Regions from separate parts of the Homo sapiens genome. Here all the other regions are linked to region 3. The links are contacts of gene promoters, found by promoter capture Hi-C in human tissues and cell types (Jung and others, 2019). All regions are on one chromosome and are shown on one strand. Each heading gives the region's core, a stretch centred on a gene start or on the middle of the fragment in contact. The rest is flanking DNA. Distances are from core to core; before and after follow the strand shown. Region 1 overlaps MRPS6 (mitochondrial ribosomal protein S6). Region 2 overlaps LOC105372790 (a long non-coding RNA gene). Region 3 holds the start of KCNE2 (potassium voltage-gated channel subfamily E regulatory subunit 2). Region 4 overlaps LOC105372790 (a long non-coding RNA gene).

The links. The method cuts DNA at HindIII sites, captures the fragments that hold promoters and counts their contacts. A contact is called where the count stands out against the background at its distance.
Region 1: a contact is called between a fragment that was not itself captured here and the fragment with the promoter of KCNE2 in region 3, in 2 of the 25 tissues and cell types used here (dorsolateral prefrontal cortex and mesenchymal stem cells).
Region 2: a contact is called between a fragment that was not itself captured here and the fragment with the promoter of KCNE2 in region 3, in 3 of the 25 tissues and cell types used here (adrenal gland, aorta and dorsolateral prefrontal cortex).
Region 4: a contact is called between a fragment that was not itself captured here and the fragment with the promoter of KCNE2 in region 3, in 1 of the 25 tissues and cell types used here (IMR-90 fibroblasts).

The regions. Positions count from the first base shown.
Region 1 is chr21:34,090,730-34,096,104 of GRCh38, forward strand. All of the region lies in intron 1 of MRPS6 (mitochondrial ribosomal protein S6), which reads left to right. It overlaps SLC5A3 (solute carrier family 5 member 3), which reads left to right. Exons shown (of 2, transcript NM_006933.7): 2 at 4,134-5,375. The coding sequence starts at 4,470. Among named protein-coding and RNA genes, the nearest start is that of SLC5A3, 20 kb to the left of the region's middle. The HindIII fragment of the contact is 6,027 bases long and covers 319-5,375 here.
Region 2 is chr21:34,051,693-34,056,607 of GRCh38, forward strand. LOC105372790 (a long non-coding RNA gene) reads left to right here. Exons shown (of 4, transcript XR_937681.3): 4 at 19-256. Among named protein-coding and RNA genes, the nearest start is that of MRPS6, 19 kb to the right of the region's middle. The HindIII fragment of the contact is 5,440 bases long and covers 1-4,349 here.
Region 3 is chr21:34,362,407-34,367,490 of GRCh38, forward strand. It overlaps KCNE2 (potassium voltage-gated channel subfamily E regulatory subunit 2), which reads left to right and starts at 1,600. Exons shown (of 2, transcript NM_172201.2): 1 at 1,600-1,745. The region is part of intron 2 of LOC105372791 (a long non-coding RNA gene); the gene reads right to left. The HindIII fragment of the contact is 19,800 bases long and covers 1-5,084 here.
Region 4 is chr21:34,001,139-34,006,279 of GRCh38, forward strand. The region is part of intron 2 of LOC105372790 (a long non-coding RNA gene); the gene reads left to right. Among named protein-coding and RNA genes, the nearest start is that of MRPS6, 70 kb to the right of the region's middle. The HindIII fragment of the contact is 8,275 bases long and covers 1-5,141 here.

The sequences.
Region 1 (5,375 bases), core at 2,082-4,581, 270 kb before region 3:
TAAGGAGCAAGTTGGTTTCATTTTAAAAGCCAGACAGTTGAGACTTGTTGAGGCTCATAGAGATGAAGTTGTTGCCTGAGATCCTACAGTTAGGAAGTGACGGAGCATGGAACCCAGCCCTTAAAAACTGTGCTGTTTTCTTCTGTACCGTGCCACCTACATAGATGTGGTACCTACACCCACCTCCCTTCTTACAGAATCATGAAATCTGTCTGTTGGGGTGGGGAGAAAACAAGCTTGGGTATGCCCATGTTTTTTGTTTTTGGTAGGTTACACAAAAGTGATTGTAATTCAGGTAATTAGTTTTCAGAGGTGTCTGTGTGTTCTATAACCCTTCAATTATTAGCTGGCTAAGTGAATATTTTTCATTTGGATCAGAGGATGAGCAGGGCTCATCAAGCTTACCATTGACAGAGTGCTGGACTAGGCGTCTCAGATTGTACCTTGAGTGTGTGGTTTGTAAATTGACTCCAAAGCTAAAAGAGGTGGTTGTTTGGTCACGTTTAAGATTATTGCGTACTACTCTTTGCAGGCCCCGCCCTGTGTCATTGAACTTATGACTTGAAGCCCTGAGTATAGGAGATAATTTTTCTTGTTCCTTGTTTGGTTTTAGTGGCAGGTGGTTTTTTATTTTATTATTTTTTTGATAGAGTGCCCATATATCCTGCTGTTTACATATAGTTCCAGAATAAGTTTCTGGTTTGGAAGATAAATTATATGGTCACCCAGACAGTACTAGAGAGATCTGGTCATGATAACTAATTACATTTTGGTTAACATGGTTATATCACCTGAAGGAGTGCTTATTTAAATTTGGTCTTACCTTTTTTTCTCTTTCTATTTGGTCAAATGCAGCAAATATTTATATTTACACTTCTCTATTTGGATTAATTCTTCAGTTGCAATTTAATTTATCCAGATGCGTGGAATAGAACCAAAACTGCATTCTAATTCTGTGCAAAACAATAAAATACTACTTTCTGAGAAGGATGCCTTCTCTTTTGGGAAGAAGGGGAATCTGCTCTGTTTCAAAGCACCTTTGTGTTCAAGGTTTGGCTAAATCTGCTCATCACCACTAGGGGACTGTTTCTTTTTGCATTCTACAAGTATTACTCCCATTACAGAAGCTTTTTAAGAAAAAAATGGACTACCAAGGAACCCACCTACATGCTTTTCATAACTATACCTATTTTATTGTCTTATAATTTTACTTGAGAGGTTTGCGTGAATGATGAACTGTGACAAAAAGCATATATAAATATAAAAATACAAGTTAAAAAGCCTCATGTTAGCTGAAGATTCTTCCATGTGTATTCTTATAAAAATAAGGGAACCCTGGACAGTGCTCATTGTATTTTGTTGAAGAAATGTTAACTTCTTTAAAAGGAAGAAAAACATATATATATATATAACATACTGTATATTCAGAACCATTTTTAAGGAATGTAGTTTATCTCTTGAAAGACTGAAATTCAAGGCTGTGACTGTGACTAGAGTGTAAAATATAGCTGCATTGCATTATAGTATTTTATATATTTCTACAAACCAAATTGACCTGTTTTTGGTTTTGTTTTTCCTTTTCCAGTCTTTACCAGGTGCTGGTCTCTGCATGTGTTTTGTTTAAGTTGGAAAAATCTAGACACGACCCACAGAGTGGTATGGTATCCAGTGAGAAGGGAACTGTCCGCAGTGGCTTTGAAGGATATGAGGAAGCCTAGGCGGAGAGTTGAGAATTCAGCCTTGAGCTAGTGTTAGGGTACTATTTGGTACCTCTCCTGTGGGCAGAGCGACTTTACTAGAGAAGTTAGGAGTTAGGGCTAGCATGAGAACTTCATGCAGTTTGAGCATTCATCAGGCAGCAGAATATAGCTTCTATATTTACCTTGCATAAATCAGATTTGACAATGAAGAACAATGTTACTGATAGTAACAGTGCTTCCCAGTGATTGAGGAAGTGCTTGTTTTCTTTTTCAGCACTTTGTTCTCTGAACAAATAAGCTGCAGCAGCTACTATGACACATAACCCACCCTATTTCCCCCCCAACGGCCAGATGAAACCAGAAATACCCACTGTGTTTTTCTCTCCCTTCTTTGGAAAGCACGTGGTTGCTACTGCCATTGGGAAGAGTGATACCTGATTAGCCAGGTAGCCTTCTGAAAATTGAAACAAGTGGCCTGAGGATGACTTGGATGGCTGTTGGGTAGCAGAGAGCCCTGGAGGCAGGGTTTCATAACTGCGAACAGCAGTTTTCATTGTAATTGACACAGCAGTTTTCATTGTAATTGACAAGCTTCCCTTATGCAGAAACATTTAACGATACCTTTTTAAATAATGTTTACTAGTCATCTGATTAGATTTTATTAAAAATTTAGATGATTCGTCCTACATAATGTCAAAGCATTTGTTTAAAAACTTGGAAGCTTTTGGGGGTGGGGAAGGTGGTCATAGAAATATGATCATCTTCAGGATTTGGCAGGTATGAAGTGATACAAACCTCAACTTTTAAGATTTTTTTTTTTTTTTTTGCTTTTCTCTGGCAATCAATCTTATTTATGCCAGCCGTTGACACTTAGAAAGGATTTAAATCACTTTTCATAGCATAATTATTGTATTGCTTAATGCTTTAAAAAGGCACGCAGATGGGATTGAGACATTTCTATCCAGGCAGTTTTTTCTGCATTAGACCTAAGAACCTAATTTTGTAGGGCAGTAGTCTCTAGGCATTATGTTTAGCTCCTTTTGTCAGTGAGAAGTGTGTTGTAAAGTTTCTAATACTGTGGTCTGTTTTGAACGGTTTTGAGAAGAGGTAGCTTTAGTATAATTTATAGGACTTAAAAGGAAAATGCCTAGAATCATCAGAAAAAGCATGGAAAAACATTCTTCTCTGAGGTTGCCTTATTGGAAAAGGAGAAATCATTTAGAAGTTAATGTGTGGAAGGCATTAGGTTGAATAAAATTGTTGTTCGTATTGATCTGTCAGCTGCAATTACAATTAACTGAAAATTTAGTATTTGTCTCTTTTTCAGGAGAGAAGCCGTCAAATTTTAATACATTTAATTTTAGGTATATTTAAATGTCTGTTTTGCAGAGTGATTATCTTAATCCAGAACTGAAAAATTCCTGATGGTCCTACTGAAGATTTATCTAATGGTCCACAAATGTCTGTTTTGTTGAGGTTTGGCGGACATAATAATAAATCATTTTTTAGTCTTCTGAAAACTTTTCTCCTCCTCCCTCTTTTCTCTGCTTCTTATACCCTTCAACAAAAAGCATTAAAAGGAAAACATAAAATCACGCCTTTAGTCAGTGCCGTTATCCTCTCAGAGGTTGTTTTGGAAATACTGCCTGATGAAAAGGAAGAGAAGGAAATTGCTTCTTTTAAAGTTTGCTTTTTATCTTCTTGCAGCATCTTCTAACTGGCAGAAATAATACAATTTTTGAGTTGTTTTGTAAGTTGGATATTTTTAGTTTTGTGTGGAATGTCGTGTTTCCCATTAGGGCAGGGGGCGTCTCACAAGATCTAGGTTACTGTATGACAACTATATCCATTTACTGGAGTTTAAGAAGCTTTATAACAATACATTTCCAGAGACTAGGCAGTACTTGGTTTTCTGTATTTAAATTTTCTGAGGGTAGATGATAACATCTAGTAAACACCACCTGCCTGTTCCATCCAGGACCCTAACTGGCCATAAAGTTACCCCCAAACTCTCTTAGGATTCATAGTATTTTAAGATTTCATTTTTGTGCCCTTATTACGAATATAATTAGTGTTTTCTCCCCTTTAGGGTGCTTTAAGATCTTAGTGCCTGTCCTAATCTGAGCATACCACAGTAAGACAAGAAAGGGCAATGCTGTGGTAGGCAGTTAGCTGCTGAAGTTAGGCCACTTAGTTATGAGGTAGATGAATTTCTGTCCTCAGCTCAAAATGATAATATTCTCACTGACAAAAGTATCAGCTGTGATCATATAGATTGCTCTTTCCTGTGGAACTGAAGTGTATTAAAAAAATTTTTTTTCTTCCAATAAAGAATGTCTCGTTGCGCCGGGTTTGCTAGACTGAAAGTTTCCTCATCACGTGGCGAGACCTCCTCTACTTCAATCTTTGTCTTTTGTCTCTGCTGCCTTGCAGGGTTGGTACAGTAGGCTTCACTAGACTTAGCTGCAACTCAGAATTTCTCCTCCAGCACCTGAGTAAATGCTGATGGTCTTGTGGAGAGTGGATTAAGAGTACGAGCTAAGTTCTCAATCCCAATTAAGAAGCGGAAAATTTAAACTGTCTTCTTCAAAGTTTATCACAACCACCACCATCAAGACAGCAAACCAAAGGACAAAGACTTTGACCCTGCTGTGTTGCTCTGTGTAGTCCAGTTCACGTATGGTTTACAGACTTGGCTGGGGTTACTAAAAATAAATAAAAAGTTGGACACTTCTGTCATTGGAGCGCTATTATTCACAAGTTACCAGAATGAGAGCTGTACTGGACACAGCAGACATTGCCATAGTGGCCCTGTATTTTATCCTGGTCATGTGCATTGGTTTTTTTGCCATGTGGAAATCTAATAGAAGCACCGTGAGTGGATACTTCCTGGCGGGGCGCTCTATGACCTGGGTAGCAATTGGTGCCTCTCTGTTTGTGAGCAATATTGGGAGTGAGCACTTCATTGGGCTGGCAGGATCTGGAGCTGCAAGTGGATTTGCAGTGGGCGCATGGGAATTCAATGCCTTACTGCTTTTACAACTTCTGGGATGGGTTTTCATCCCAATTTACATCCGGTCAGGGGTATATACCATGCCTGAATACTTGTCCAAGCGATTTGGTGGCCATAGGATTCAGGTCTATTTTGCAGCCTTGTCTCTGATTCTCTATATTTTCACCAAGCTCTCGGTGGATCTGTATTCGGGTGCCCTTTTTATCCAGGAGTCTTTGGGTTGGAATCTTTATGTGTCTGTCATCCTGCTCATTGGCATGACTGCTTTGCTGACTGTCACCGGAGGCCTTGTTGCAGTGATCTACACAGACACTCTGCAGGCTCTGCTCATGATCATTGGGGCACTTACACTTATGATTATTAGCATAATGGAGATTGGCGGGTTTGAGGAAGTTAAGAGAAGGTACATGTTGGCCTCACCCGATGTCACTTCCATCTTATTGACATACAACCTTTCCAACACAAATTCTTGTAATGTCTCCCCTAAGAAAGAAGCCCTGAAAATGCTGCGGAATCCAACAGATGAAGATGTTCCTTGGCCTGGATTCATTCTTGGGCAGACCCCAGCTTCAGTATGGTACTGGTGTGCTGACCAAGTCATCGTGCAGAGGGTCCTTGCAGCCAAAAACATTGCTCATGCCAAAGGCTCTACTCTTATGGCT
Region 2 (4,915 bases), core at 380-2,879, 310 kb before region 3:
ATTATTGTGTTTCCTAAGGCAGAGCTTTCGGGAGTTTTCGTGTTTCAGTCCAGCCACCGAGTGGGCCAACATTTGATGATCACATGAAAACCTCGCTCCAATAACATTCAAAATCTTCACCATGAACAGGTGCTGGGTAGATCATGTTTATAAGAATTGTGTGCATTTCTGAGTGTTTAGAATTGTATGTGTTTAGGCTGAGCGCATTGGCTCATGCCTGTAATCTTAGCACTTTGGGAGGCCAAAGCAGGCGGATTGCTTATGTCCAGGAGTTCAAGACCAGCCTGGGCAGCATGGCAAAACTCCATCTCTACTAAAAATAAAACACAAATTAACTGAGCATGGTGGTGCCTGCCTGTAGTTTCAGCTACTTGGTTGGGGACTGAGGTGGGAGGATTGCTTGAGCCCAGGAGGTCGAGGTTGCAGCGAGCCTAAATCGCACCACTACACTCCAGCCTGAGTGACAAAGTGAGACCCTGTCTCAAGAACTGTGTTTTTATTTATTAAGTTAATCAAAGCTTTAAAAGTCTCAAAAGATAACAATGGCTGAGCAGCTTGTAGGACTCTGGGAAACTGCAGGGGAAATACTCATGAAACCTTAAGGAGTAATTTAATAGACTTAGAGATGAAAACGAAACCCCAAGGAGACAGCCCAGGCACAGTAGAAAGAGAGACACACAGTTGTACCAGTCGTTTAGAAGCAGATGTGAACGATGGCCCAGGTGTGACGATCATGGTAGAACTTGATGCAGGACATGTGTGTGGCAGGAAATACAGGCATGTTTTCACACATTCCATCAGGCACAAATGTGCTCTTCGTGTCCAAGAGATTATCTTCTAAACTTGGCCTTTCCAGTGGCACATGTCAGTAAATCTCTGATACTTGACTAGATCTGCTTCTAGAAACAGAAAGAAGCTTCATCTTTCTTTCCATCGCCACAGCCTCCGGGGGTGGCCTCCCTCTCCTACCACCCCTACCATTCATTCTCCATCTGCAGTTGGCATGCTCCTTTAAGAGTGTAAATTAGGGGCCAGGCGCAGTGGCTCACGCCTATAATCCCAGCACTTTGGGAGGCTTAGCGGGTGAAGCGCTTGACAGGAGTTGGAGACAGGAGTTTGAGACCAGCCTGGGCAACATGGTGAAACCCTGTCTCTACTAAAAATAGAAAAAATTAGCCAGGTGTGGTGGTGTGTGCCTGCAATTCTAGCTACTCAGGAAGCTCAGGCAGGAGAACTGCTTGAACCCAGGAGGCAGAGGTTGCAGTGAGCTAAGATTGTGGCACTGCACTCCAGCCTGGGCAACAGAGCAAGACTCTGTCTCAAAAAAAAAAAAAAAAGAGTGTAAATTAGATAATCTTTCTTCCTTGCTTAAAACTCTGCAATAGGCCTGGCATGGTGGCTCACGCCTGTAATCCCAGCACTTTGGGAGGCCAAGGCGGGCGGATCACGAGGTCAGGAGATCGAGACCATCCTTGCTAACACAGTGAAACCCCCTCTCTACTAAAAATACAAAAAAATTAGCTGGGCGTGGTGGCACGCGCCTGTAATCCCAGCTACTTGGGAGGCTGAGGCAAGAGAATCACTTGAACCTGGAAGGTGGAGGTTGCAGTGAGCCGAGATCATGTCACTGCACTCCAGCCTGGCAACAGGGCGAGACTCTGTCTCAAAAACAAAACAAAACCGAACAAAAACCCTGCAATAAGGACAATTTTTATTAAGTGTTGGTGCTGTATTCATATTTTCTCATGTAATCCTCCTAAGTCTCCAAGCACCTCAGTACCGTCATCATTCCCAACTCACTGATGAGGAAGTTGGGCTTAAGGGGGGCCTGCCCAGGCCGGGTGCAGTGGCTCACTGTAATCCCAGCCTGTAATCCCAGCACTTTGGGAAGCCAAAGTGGGCGGATCACCTGAGGTCAGGAGCACTTTGGGAGGCCGAAGTGAGGGGATCACTTGGGGTGAGGAATTCGAGACTGGCCTGGCCCAGATGGTGAAATCCCATTTCTAATAAAAAATGCAAAAATTAGCTGGGCGTGGTGGCAGGCACCTGTAATCCCAGCTACTTGGGAGGCTGAGGCAGGAGAATTGCTTGAACCCGGGAGGCAGAGGTTGTGGTGAGCCGGGATCGTGCCACTGCACTCCAGCCTGGGTGACAGAGTGAGACTCCATATCAAAAAAAAAAAAAAAAAAAAGAAAGAGGGGCTTCCCAAATCACTCCAGCTAATGTGGAGGCTGCTCTCCCACCTCCAAGAATGCCTCCTCCTCCCGTTATGATGTTTTCTTCATAGCATTTATCACTCTCTGAGATTTCCACTTATTTATGTGTTTACAGTCAGCCTTTTCCCACTAGAATAGAAGCCTTAAGAGTAGAGGGACTTTAATTTTTTCACTGCCATATTCCCTGTGCCAAAATGATGCCTGGCACATAGTTGGCATTCAATAAAAATCTGGCCCAGTGAACTTCATGCTACTCTGAAAAGTTTATTAAATGTATCCAAGGTGACCAAGACATTAACCTGCATTTATAATGAACTATATAAATAAATGTAGTCAACAAATATTTTATTAACTCAAAAGTAAGAATGATCTGTGTTATCTTCACATGGTTTGTTTACCAAATACAGACCATATACCAGTCGTTTTTAGGCACCGGTGATAAAAACACCCAGGTCCTTATCTTAAGGGGCTCATAAATGTGTGTGTGTGTGTGTATGTGTGTGTAGGAAGTGGGTGGGAAAGGGAATATAAGCAAGTAAACAGTGTCACTACACTGTGTGGTCAATACAATTATGGAGGTAAACACAGGTGCTGGTGACATAGGGGAAGGGCAGGTAGATCTGAAGGGGGATGAGGAAGGGTGTTGGCAAAGCTTTCGAGAGGAGCTGAGAATACAGTTGAGTTGGGAAGAACAAATAGTGATTATCCAAAGAAAGAATAGGGAAGCGTAAATAGGGCTGGAGAAGCAACTTGTTCTGGGTAGGGAAGCACCATGCTTCGGGAGCTGCAGGGTCGTGAGTTTAACGGTGGAGAATACAGCTGGGATGTGGTGAGGGATCAATCTCGGTGTGCATGGTGCAGCCCTTCGTAGATGACCCTGATATCAGTGGACATCACTTACCCATGTCTGCTTTATTTTCCAGTGGGTTCCCAGTGCTAGTGTGGTGCCTGTCAGATGGAAGGCCCTCAGTAAATATTTCCTGAATGAGTGAATGAATGAATGGATTTGGAATGTTACCCCCAGTACCCCTCGTTCCAGGAGGCAGTTAGAGTTTTACGTAAACAGAAATGTGATCTGATCAACATGCTGTTTGAGAAGGACCACTCTGGGAGCCCGAGAGTAGAAGAGGGAAGACCCGGGTCAGTGAGGCAGGTAAACAAGTGCGTGTGGGAGTGCATTTGAGGGCTGTGGAGTGAGGTGGGTGGCAAGGAAGGAATGGATTTGAGAGCTCCTTGGTGACCTACTGGATGGAAGTAAGAAATAAGGTCACCTCTAGGAGGTTTTCTGATTTCTGGTACAAGGCCTGGGTATGTGGTGGGGCCATTCACAGGACATGAGACTGGAGGTGGCGCAGCCTAAAGGCAAGATACTGGGTTCAGCTGACACCTGGAACACCCAGGTAGAAATGTCTAATGATCAGCCAAAACCTGGGCCTGGGGCCAGGAGACAGGTCTGGGCTGGAAGAAGGTCTGGACATCAGCAGGGTCTGGGCAGTGCTGGAAACCAGACAGTAGGAGGAGAGCACTCAGAGAGGGAGCCCTGTGGGGTGGGCACAGCAGTGGTCTTGGGGGCAGATGGAAGGAATCGGCAGAGGTGACCCAAAGCTGGCTAGCTGGTGGCAGTGGAACCAGTTATGGTTTGGGGGGGTGGAACAAGTTATGGTTTGGGGGAATCAATGGCAGCTGCAAGAGGACCTTGTCATTTTCACCTGCAATAGTGAAAGAATGCCCAGGTTGGAAGCTGAAAAAATAAAATCCAAGATAGAATGAGGTGGGAGGAATGGGCTGAGGCAGGCAGCTTGGAACCAAGAAGGAAGTGGATGCTGGAACTCCCTTTTTATATGGTTCCCTGGGCGAAGTGCAGGGTGAGGTGGCTTTCAGGAACCATTGGGATGAGGCGGTTTCTGCCTTTGAGTAACTTTCCATGCCACCACCCAGGAGATTAGAGCTTCTTCTTCTTTTTTTTTTTTTTTTTTTTTTTTCTGAGACAGAGTCTCGCTCTGTTGCCCAGGCTGGAGAGCAGTGGTGTGATCTCGGTGCACTGCAACCTCCACCTCCCTGGTTCAGGCAATTCCCCTGCCTCAGCCTCCCGAGTAGCTGGGATTACAGGCACATGTCACCATGTCTGGCTAGTTTTCTGTATTTTTAATAGAGACAGGGTTTCACTATGTTGGCCAGACTGGTCCTGAACTCCTGACCTCAGGCAATCCACCCACCTCGGCCTCCCAAAGTGCTGGGATTACAGGAGTGAGCCCTGTGCCCGGCCAGAGCTTCTTTTAAAAATATGTGCCTGGGGTCCTGGCCTTCACCTGTACTTTGCCTGTAATTTTCCACCTCTTGGTCTTTACTGTATAGCACTTGAGCAATCAGCTGTTCAGGGTGGTACAGCTGGAGGCACCATATGCACTTCGGCAATTACATGTCTAGACTCATTACTTACTTTCTTTTGGCACTGATTCCACATGATTCGGGCATTTCCAATCATCCCTAGTTCCACTTCTTAGATCTTCTGACCTCCTGGCCTAGCCCTGGAGAAATTTTATTGCAGTGTTTCGGGTACTGAGAACACAGGATCCTTGCTGGCCTCAGTTTCCCGTAGCTCTGATTTTTTTTTTTTTTTTGAGATGGAGTCTCGCTCTGTCCCCCAAGCTGGACTGCAGTGTGTGATTTCAGCTCACTGCAACCTCCGCCTCCCAGGT
Region 3 (5,084 bases), core at 350-2,849:
TGACCACCCACATGACCTTGAAGTGATTTTGAGTGAGTGAGTGTAACTTCCGTGGCTGCCATTTAAATTGGATTCAAATCCAAATGGCTCCACCTCCATGTCATCAGACCTCTTGTGCCCTGATTCCCTTGGCTAAGTTCACAGTACCTTCCACATCAGGTTGTGGCAATGATTACCTGAGGTTAATACGATAAAAGCACATGGTAAGCACTCCTAAATGATAGCCAATATAAAGACTCAGTTCTCCCAATTCCAAGGGTCCCCACCATGATAGAAAAGGATCTTTTGGTAAATAGAGTATGTTTAGCTCTTGCTAGGTCTTTAAATACTTTGCTGGGGGCCAGGCACCATGGCTCACACCTGTAATCCCACCGCCTTAGGAGACTGAGGCTGGAGGATCCTTTGCGGCCAAGAGTTTGAGACCAGCCTGGGCAACACAGCAAGACCCTATTTCTACAAAAATAAAAATAAAAATTAACCAGGCTTTGTACACACTTGTAGTCCCATTACTTGGGAGGCTGAGGCAGGAGGATCCCTCAAGCCCAAGAGTTCAAAGCTGTAGTGAGCTATGATTGCGCCACTGCACTCCAGCCTGGGTGACAGAGTAAGACTCTGTTTCAAAACAACAACAACAAACAAAAACCTCAAAACCTCTTTGTTGGACTTAACTTCCAGCTCCTCCATGTAGTACCTTAGTACCCTTGCAGCCCGTTTCTCTTTTACAAGACAACAATGTTGTTATAAACTCATTTGGATGTGGTCCCGTGGAGGAGTATTTACCAGAATCTAGCTTATTTAGCGTCTTCAGAACACGGCACTTGCCTGGAATTATACTGACCCCCTCAACCCATACCAACCACCCAGAGATGGCTGTTCTTGGCTCCTCTCCCTGGGGCCCTGTCCTTCCCACATCGTCTTCTTCTTCTTTCTTCTTCTTTCTTCTTCCTTCTTCTTCCTTCTTCTTCCTTCTTCTTCCTTCTTCTTCCTTCTTCCTCTTCCTCTTCCTCTTCTTCTTTCTTCTTTCATTGAGACAGAGTCTCACTCTGTCACCCAGCCTGGAGTGCCGTGGTATGATTTCAGCTCACTGTAACTTCTGCCTTGTGGATTCAAGTGATTCTCCTGCCTCAGCCTCCAGAGTAGCAGGGACTACAGGTGTGTGCCACCACACCTGGCTAATTTTTACATTTTTAAGTAGAGACGGGGTTTCACCATGTTGGCAAGGCTGGTCTTGAACTCCTGATCTCAGGTGATCTGCCCGCCTCAGCCTCCCAAAGTGCTGGGATTACAGGCGTGAGCCACCCCACCCAGCCCTTCCCACGTATTCTGGCAGGGAATGCTGTTGTCCCCCAAGCCTACCCTAAGAGGAAGACTTCTTCTGGGGAAAGATGTTCACTGTACCCAGGCCCTGCCCTGGCTGGAGCTGGCAGGAAGGGTCCCAGAGCAGGAACTTGTGCCACTCTGCCCAAAGCCAGAGTCCCTGAGGCACACACCCCATCAGGCACCAAGGTGAATTCCAACTGCCAGTTAGTATTTAACTTTCCACATACGATTAGATTAAACATGTGGGTTCATAAAAGCATAGGATTGCAGACTGCAGTTGCAAGGGCTTAGATGGTTGTAAGGTGAAGGTGCCCAGCAGGCTGAGGCTTGTGTGCAACCCAGAAGAGAGCTCGCTAACGCCAGCAAGAAGGTTCAGAACAGCCTGGCTTTGGAAAGGAATTTCATCCTGCCCACACACTGCATAGGTAAGTCTTAGCACACATTCTTTATTTTTTGAGGAATTAAGTAACAAAGTTATCTATGTGCCTTTTCCAGAAAATGATAAAAGGAATGATTTTCCTGGTACATGGCCTGGCTCCTCATCCACTCTTCCTTCTTTCCTTCTTGTGTTTTCCTTACTCATTTCTTTGTTAATTGCCTTAGAATGAAAATTTTGAGAGTTTTTAAAATGGAGGATTCATGGTAAACGTAGGTAATCATATTGTTTTCTCTTCTTGATATAAAAATGAAAGACTTTGCTGCCTTTTATAGGCCCAGGTGATGTGAGCGATCTACCATGTTTCAAGAAAAGAAAACTTTGGGGCTGGGCGCGGTGGCTCACGCCTGTAATCCCAGCACTTTGAGAGGCTGAGGCAGGCGGATCACCTGAGGTCAGGAGATCGAGACCAGCCTGGCCAACATAGTGAAACCCCATCTCTACTAAAAATACAAAAAAAATTAGCCTGGCGTGGTGGCTGGCGCCTGTAGTCCCAGCTACTCAGGAAGCTGAGGCAGGAGAACGGCATGAACCCGGGAGGTGGAGCTTGCAGTGAGCCGAGATCACGCCACTGCACTCCAGCCTGGGCGACAGAGTGAGACTCCATCTCAAAAAAAAAAAAAAGAAAGAAAAGAAAACTCTGGACTTTGGGGTCAAATGAGTGTTACTTTCCTAATAGTGTCCTGATTGCTGTTGTCATGAATAACACACATTCATGACAGGAATGGCTGGAATTAGGGGATCATTCTGTAGCCTGGAGACAGGGCACAACTAATGACATGTGTAAGCTCAAATCATGGTCTTGATCTTATGTCTTGTACCCAGTTGAGCCAACTGGTCACAGCAATGAAAACAGTGAGTTATTGGAATGTGTGACCTCTGCTAGGACAGTCAGTGCTGGACACTGGCTTGGGTGATGTGAGTTCTAGTCCAGGCACTGTGGCCAACTTGAGAGGCTTGTGATCTTGGACAGGTGACTTAAGCCCTCTAGGCTATAGTTATTCCACCTATCAGAGAGCAAACCAGCCTAAATGATCTCCAGGGGCCCAGCCTGTGCTAGGACTCAGCAAGAAGCATTCACTGGAAATGTAGGTCCTCCTAGGTTGATACACATGAATTGCCCATATTTGACCATTTCTAACCTATATAAATGGCTATTTCATATAATTCCAGAGAACATAAATGGTAGTTGTCTTAGCATTACTAAAGTAAATGCCTATTATGATATTCTACTTAGGGGTAGGATAAGTATGTATACCAAATATGGTTTGTTTCGATTTGATTTTTGAGACAGGGTCTCACTGTCACTGCTGAGTGCAGTGGTGTGATCATGGCTTACTGCAGCCTTGACCTCCCAGGTTCAAGCTATCCTCCCACCTCAGCCTCCTGAGTAGCTGGGACTATAGGAGTGTGCCATCACATCCAGCTATTTTTTTATGTTTTGTAGAGGTGGTGTCTCGCTATGTTGTCCAGGCTGATCTCGAACTCCTGGGTTCAAGCGATCCTCCCACCTCGGCCTCCCGAAGTGCTGGGATTACAGGTGTGAACCACTGTGCCTGGCCTCCAAATATGGTTGATGTCTATCAGTCAGTTAAACAGTAATTCTGGGAATAAAAAATTGAAATCAACCCACTTATAATTGGAATGTCTTAGCATAATGTCCTTCAACGAAGCTGCTTTCACACACTGTGATTTGTTTTTTTCCTGTGGTCATGGAGCAGGCATGGGCCACTCGGCCACATCTCATGCATCCGTATTCAAAAGCCAAATCCCTTTTGGATCCTGTTTATTTGGCCTGGCCACGGGTGAGCACTTAGACATTTAATCCCTATAGGCCCTTTCATCCCTGTGATTAAGTCTTATCAAAAAGCACCTCCTGACCGGCTTAGCAGTGGGGCCTTTGTTCACATTAGAAGGGTTGAACAAATAATGGGCAGTTGGGGCTGCTTAGCTCTAAAAGGCTGGTGAACGCTGCCATGCCTGCACCTGGAAACAAACCCAAATGACTCCAGTGGAATTCAGCACTGAAGTCCCTCATCTCAAAGACCTTTTGTGGCAGAGACTCTTGGATGGGCCTTAGGGGTCCCAGGAGTCCCCTGAAATTGAATGTAGAGCTTCCTACGTGCATAGGTATACTTTCTTGGGGAAAAATTAAGTCACATCATTTTATTTTACTTTTCGAGGGATCTTTAACACCGCCCCTCCCCCACCCCCAATTCCCACACCCCTTAAGAATAAATTAAGAATCACTGTTCTGGTAGTTTCCAGTTGAATTCCACAGAGGAACTGTCATTCATTCACACCTTCATTCAACAGATTTTTAGTAAAGATTTGCTACGTACCCATCGCTGTGTAGGGTCCCGGGATTCAGAGATGAGTAAAGCAATCCCTGCCTTCCGGGGGCTCAAGCTCTCCTGTCATCGGGACTCAGTTACTGAATCTCACTAAACATCCTGAAGGTAGGAGTTTATAGAGTGGTTTTGAGGATCACATGAATAAGCACACAATACATGGGTAATTCAAAAACGAAAACAAGGCCGGGCACGGTGGCTCACGCCTGTAATCCCAGCACTTTGGGAGGCCAAGGTGGGCGGATCACGAGGTCAGGAGATCGAGACCATCCTGGCTAACATGGTGAAACCCCGTCTGTACTAAAAATACAAAAAATTAGCCGGGCTTCGTGGCGGGTGCCTGTAGACCCAGCTACTCAGGAGGCTGAGGCAGGAGAATGGCGTAAACCCGGGAGGCAGAGCTTGCAGTAAGCCGAGATCGCGCCACTGCACTCCAGCCTGGGCAAAAGAGACTCCATCTCAAAAAAAAAAAAAAAAAAAAAAAAAAAGGAAAAAAACAAAACTAACATGGTCATTTGCAGAAGGGGCAGAAAAAGGGTCTCTGCCTAGACCTGGGGAGGTCAGGGAAAGTACTATGGATTGGTAACAACCGGCTGGGCTTCCTACAAGAGAAAAAGACTATACTCACAGAGCCAGACCCCATCTCAAAAAAAAAAAAAAAAAAAAGTCTGGCATGGTGGCTCAAACCTGTAATCCCAGCACCTTGGGAGGCTGAAGCAGGGGGATCACTTGAGCCTAGGAGTTTAACAACATAGTGAGACCTCATCACTACTTTTTTATTTTAAAAAAGAGTTAATAAAAAATAAAATGAAAATAAAAGGGTAAAAGAGCCAGTGGCAAAGTCTTGAGTGGATTAAAGCCAGCTCAGCTAACTTTCACAGCAGACTATATCATTTTAAAGGGGAAAAAGCACATCTCTGTTACATTGCTTAGGAAATATGCTTGGTATATACCCTGGGGCAATCTTATCTATTTGT
Region 4 (5,141 bases), core at 1,978-4,477, 360 kb before region 3:
TGCAGCAATGAACAAAATGTAGATCAATTCCTGCCCTCTTGGGCCTTACTACCTGGCAGAAGATATAAAAAAGGGCCACTTCCACAGCATTGTGATGACAGTGGGATGTGACCATCCCTTTCCTAGCTAGAACTGGGGATTTGGAGTCCGAAGGCCCAGTTGACGTTTCTGGCCCTTCAACTTCCAGCTGTTTGACTCGAGGCCAATTATTTATTTATTTATTTGAGACAAGGTCTTACTCTGTTGCCCAGGCTGGAGTGCAGTGGTGTGATCACAGCTCATTGCAGTCTTGAATTCCCGGGCTCGAGTGACCCTCCCACCTCAGCCTCCCATGTAGCTGGGACTACAACTGGACACCACCAGGCCTGGCTAATTTTTTAATTTGTTATAAAGACAGGAAGGAGTCTCTTATGTTGCCCAGGCTGGTCTCGAACTCCTGAGCTCATACAATCCTCTCACCTCAGCCTCCTGAGTATCTGGGACTATAGGTGTGAAGACCACGCCCAGCTGATTTTTTAATTTTTATTTTTAGTAGCGATGAGGTCTTGCTATGTTGCCCAGGCTGGTCTCCAACTCCTGAGCTCAAGAGATCCTCCCACCTCGGGCTCCCAAAGTCCTGGGATTACAGGTGTGAGCCACTGCACCTGGCCTATTTACTTTTTTTAAGCTTTAGTTTTTTTCAGTTCTCATATGAGGAAATGACATCTGCCATGTCCACTTTGTGAGTTTTTAAAAATGAGAATACAGTGAGATAATCTACCTGAAAGCTTTTTGTGAGCTCCTAAGGAGACTTTTGAACTGTTATTGGTACTATGATCTCTCACTATCCTCTATAATGTCATGATGCTACTTGTTATCAAAAGCTGACAAAAGCTATAAACGTGCACTCTTTGTCATAGTAGCCACTAGCCACATGCAGCCGAAATGGGGCTAACTGGAATTGAGATGTGCTGTGAGGGTAAAATACACACTAAACTGTGAATTTAGTAAAAAAAAAAAAAAAAAAAAAGTAAATCTCTTATATTGAATATATTTTTGATCTTTTGGGTTAAATTGAATATATTACTTAAAGTAATTTTTTTTTTTGGAGACTAGGTCTTACTCTGTGGCCTAGGCTGAAGTGCAGTGGCGTGATCCTGGCTCACTGCAACCTCAACCTCCTGAGCTGAAGAGATCCTCCCACCTAAGCCTCCTAGGTAGCTGGGACCACAGGTGTGTGCAACCGAACCCGGCTAAGTTTATTTTTTGTGTGTATTTTTTTGGAGAGATGGAGTTTCGCCATGTTGCCCAGGCTGGTCTTGAATTTCTGGGCTCAAGCGATCCTCCCACCTCGGCCTCCCAGAATGTTGGGATTACAGCAGGCCTAGCCTAATTTTGTTAATTTTTAAATGTGGCTACCAGAGAACTTTAAATGAACTATGTGGCTCACATTATGTATTGACTGAACAATGCATCTGTAGAGGCTGTCTTTGGAAGTTTACTATATAACCAAGACCCACGAACACTCATGCAGTTCCCAGGGGTATCATGGACTGCTTAAAGTCCCATCTGTGAAACCCTAACATGATGATTTTAAAGGTTACTTTTCATTTACATTCAAAATGTACATAAAGAATGTCCCTGTGAGATTAGATCACTTAAGGGAGAACCATGTCTGTGTTTCACTACGCAGAAAATGGTTTCATCGTCTTTGTCCTGAAAGCCACTGCCTGGAAGGGCTGTGCAGCGCTCAGAGTGGGAGAGGCAGACCTCTGAGACAAATGACTTCAGCATCACTACAGCTGTGGCTAGAATGAGAACAGCCTCAAATTTCACTAATGAAGAGATTTTCTGAGTTCCATGTGAGCAACGCCGCTTCCTTCCCATCCCCGAGTGATTCCCCTTGTCAAAGAAAAAAGACACAACCAAAAGGGAGAGCTGCCATCCTTTCAGGTCCCTTCTTGTTCTTCGTCTCACTGAATTCACCCCTAAATGCTTTGAAGTATTCTCCATGACTGTTTCATCAACTGAGGAAAGGAGGCCCAGAATGGCTTAGAAACTTGCTAACTGGTTTAGAAGAAGAACTGAGATTCAAATGCTTTGCAGTGTAGGTCTGCTTCTGCCACAAAATGGCAGCCAGGGGAGGAAGGAGAAAGTGAGGAAAGGGGGAAAATTAGCGCTCGGGCTTTGTCAGATCTCAGGAGAGGCGGACGCTGGCTAAGCCCCATCGCCTTATCTTTATTTTGTGAGAAGCAAACTGTGGGGTTTGGTTGCAAGAGAAGATCTTACTAGGGACCAGTTGCAGGGTGTATTAATCAGGGGTTTCCAGAGAAACAGAACTAATAGGATCTATCTGCCTGTCATCTCTCTCTCTCTCTCCTATCTATCTATCTATCTATCTATCATCTATCTATCTATCATCTATCTATCTATCTATCTATCTATCTATCTATCATCTAATCTATCATCTATCTATCTATTCATCATCTATTTATCAACTATCATCTCTCATCTATCAACTATTTGTTTGCCATCTATTATCTATCTATCATCTATTTATCTATTAATCATCTATTTATTAACTATCAATCTATCATCTGTCATCCATCAACTATTTATCTGTCTATCCATTCTCTATCTATCTGTCTCTCTGTCTGTCAATCAGTCAGTCAATCCATCGCCAGAATTGGCTCACATTATTATGGAGGCTGAGAAGTCCCACAATCTGATCTACCATCTGAAAGCTGGAGACCCAGGAAAGCTGGTGGTGTAATTCAGTCCTGGGAATGGAGGTGGTGGGAGGATACTGGCGTCAGTTCCAGACTCTAAAGGCTCGAGAACCAGGAGCTCCAAAGTTCAAGGGCAGGAAAAAATGAATGTCCCAGTTGAAGATGAGAAAACAAATTCACCCTTCCTCTGCCATTGTGTTCTATTCAGGCCCTCAATGGATGGGATGAGGCCTACACACACTGCTGAGGGCTCTCTTCTTTGCTCAGCCGACCAATTCAAACGCTCATCTTTTCCAGAAACACCCTCATAGACACACCCAGGAATAATCTTTTACCAGCTATCTGGGCATCCCTTAGCCCAGTCAAGTTGACACATTAAAATTAACCATCCTACAGGGATTTCCTACCGTTTTGGGGAAGCCATCTTTTCATGGCTTCCTTCCAGAGGAAAATTCCTGCTATATGCTTGACAGAAAGAACAAAACCCCAAACATACAAAAAGACCAGTCTGTGGAATGTAGACAATTTGGGTCAGATGTGGTTCCCTGCCTAGAGGAGCCAGTGAGATGAGCCATTTCCATCCACCAAAGATGGGCTTGAAATGTGGTCTACCTTTCAACATGGTGCCACTGAGGGCTTCTGAGCTGGCTGTGATCATCTGACAAAACGCTGTGTTGGCCAACTCATAGAAGAGTTTGCTAGCTGGCCTGGCCCCAAGCAGAAGCAGCAGGTTACTGCCCAAATTCTCCAAGTGGGATGACCAGCGGCTATATAAAGGGCAAACAAACAAGAAAGCCTTTCTTTCTGAGAATGTTTCCACTGCAGTTAGGTTAGAAAATGATCCAGGGAAGATATAAACTAGCCCTTTCATTTAGCAAAATAAAATGCCTATCCGCTTGGTAATCTGTGCAGTGGAAGTCAGAGCCAGAGTCTTGTTTTTAAAGATTTTGTTTAATTCACCACCCCCATACCTCCCCTCCCACTGCCTAGCATCAGGCTGGACAAGAAGAAAAGGGACACTGGCCTGCAGATGCTGCCACGTGACATGTCCTTATAGAATAGCTTCTGTGACATTTGTATTAAGTAACCACAGGAAAAAAGGTGAGGTGTTGATGACAGAAGGCATCTGTATTTTCTGGGGTTGGGTTCCAGTTTTAATGAATATGGATAATGCACAAAACATCTCATTTTTCGGAGCTGTGTTTTTTCATTAAACACTGCCACTCTGCATGGGAAAGGAACTGGACATTCCTGACACATTATTTGGCAGGTCTCAATCGCAAGTGCTCCAATATTGGCTTTCGGAAACCCATTCCAGATTTGGCCCAGATTGTCAAATCTTGTCCAGAGCACCAAGTCAAAAGGTGCCTCTAAGCCCTGGGCAGAGTGCCAGGCTCTGAAAAACACTGGCTGGATCTCCTCAGGGACCCTGGCTGAGACAGGCGAGTGATTTGTTCTTCAAATGACCTTTCCCTCCTTGGAAAAGAGCACCCGGAATAAAAGTGCAAGATGTGCTTCAGATGTCCCCCAAGAGTTTAACACAAGCAGAGGTATTGAGGGGCTTCTGTGTATTGACCAAAGAAGAAACATTTTTTTGGCTGGGCATGGTGGCTTACGCCTGTAATCTCAGCACTTTGGGAGGCTGAGGCGGGTGGATCACCTGAGGTCAGGAGTTCGAGACCAGCCTGGCCAACATGGTGAAACTCCCATCTCTACCCACAAATACAAAAATTCGCCAGGCATCACCTGTAATCCCAGCTACTCGGGAGGCTGAGGCAGGAGAATTGCTTGAACCCGGGAGGCGGAGGTTGCAGTGAGTGTGGTGGTGGGCACCTGTAATCTCAGCTACTCAGGAGGCTAAGGCAGGGGAATCAATTGATCCGATCTTGGCTGCAGTGAGCCAAGATCGAACCACTGCACCCCAGCCTCGGCAACAGAGCAAGACTCCATCTCAAAAACAAAAACAAATGAACAAACGAACAAAAAGAAACATTTTTTCCCTGTGGTAGGATGTCTGCCCTCAAGCAGTGAACCCAACTACTGTAGAACTGGTGGCACCTGTCCAATTAAAAATGACATTTGCTTTAAGGTAAAAATATATTATATATTAGGGTTGGGGCTCTGTCTTCTCCTGAGTAGTGTGTCATCCAGCATTTTTCAAAGCATGGTCTGGAGACCCTCCTACATCAGAATCAGGGGACGTGTTTCAATTACAAATTTCTGACCAAACCACCTACCAAATACGTGGGAACTAGAGCTAAGAATTTTCACTGTACCAAGCTCCAGGAAATCCTGATATACCCCAAAGTTTGTGAGCCATTGGATGTAAAAAACCACATACATATATATAAAATTGTTGTTGTTTGTTTGTTTTTGAGATGGAGTCTTGCTCTGTCTCCCAGGCTGGAGTGCAATGGCGCTATCTTGGCTCAC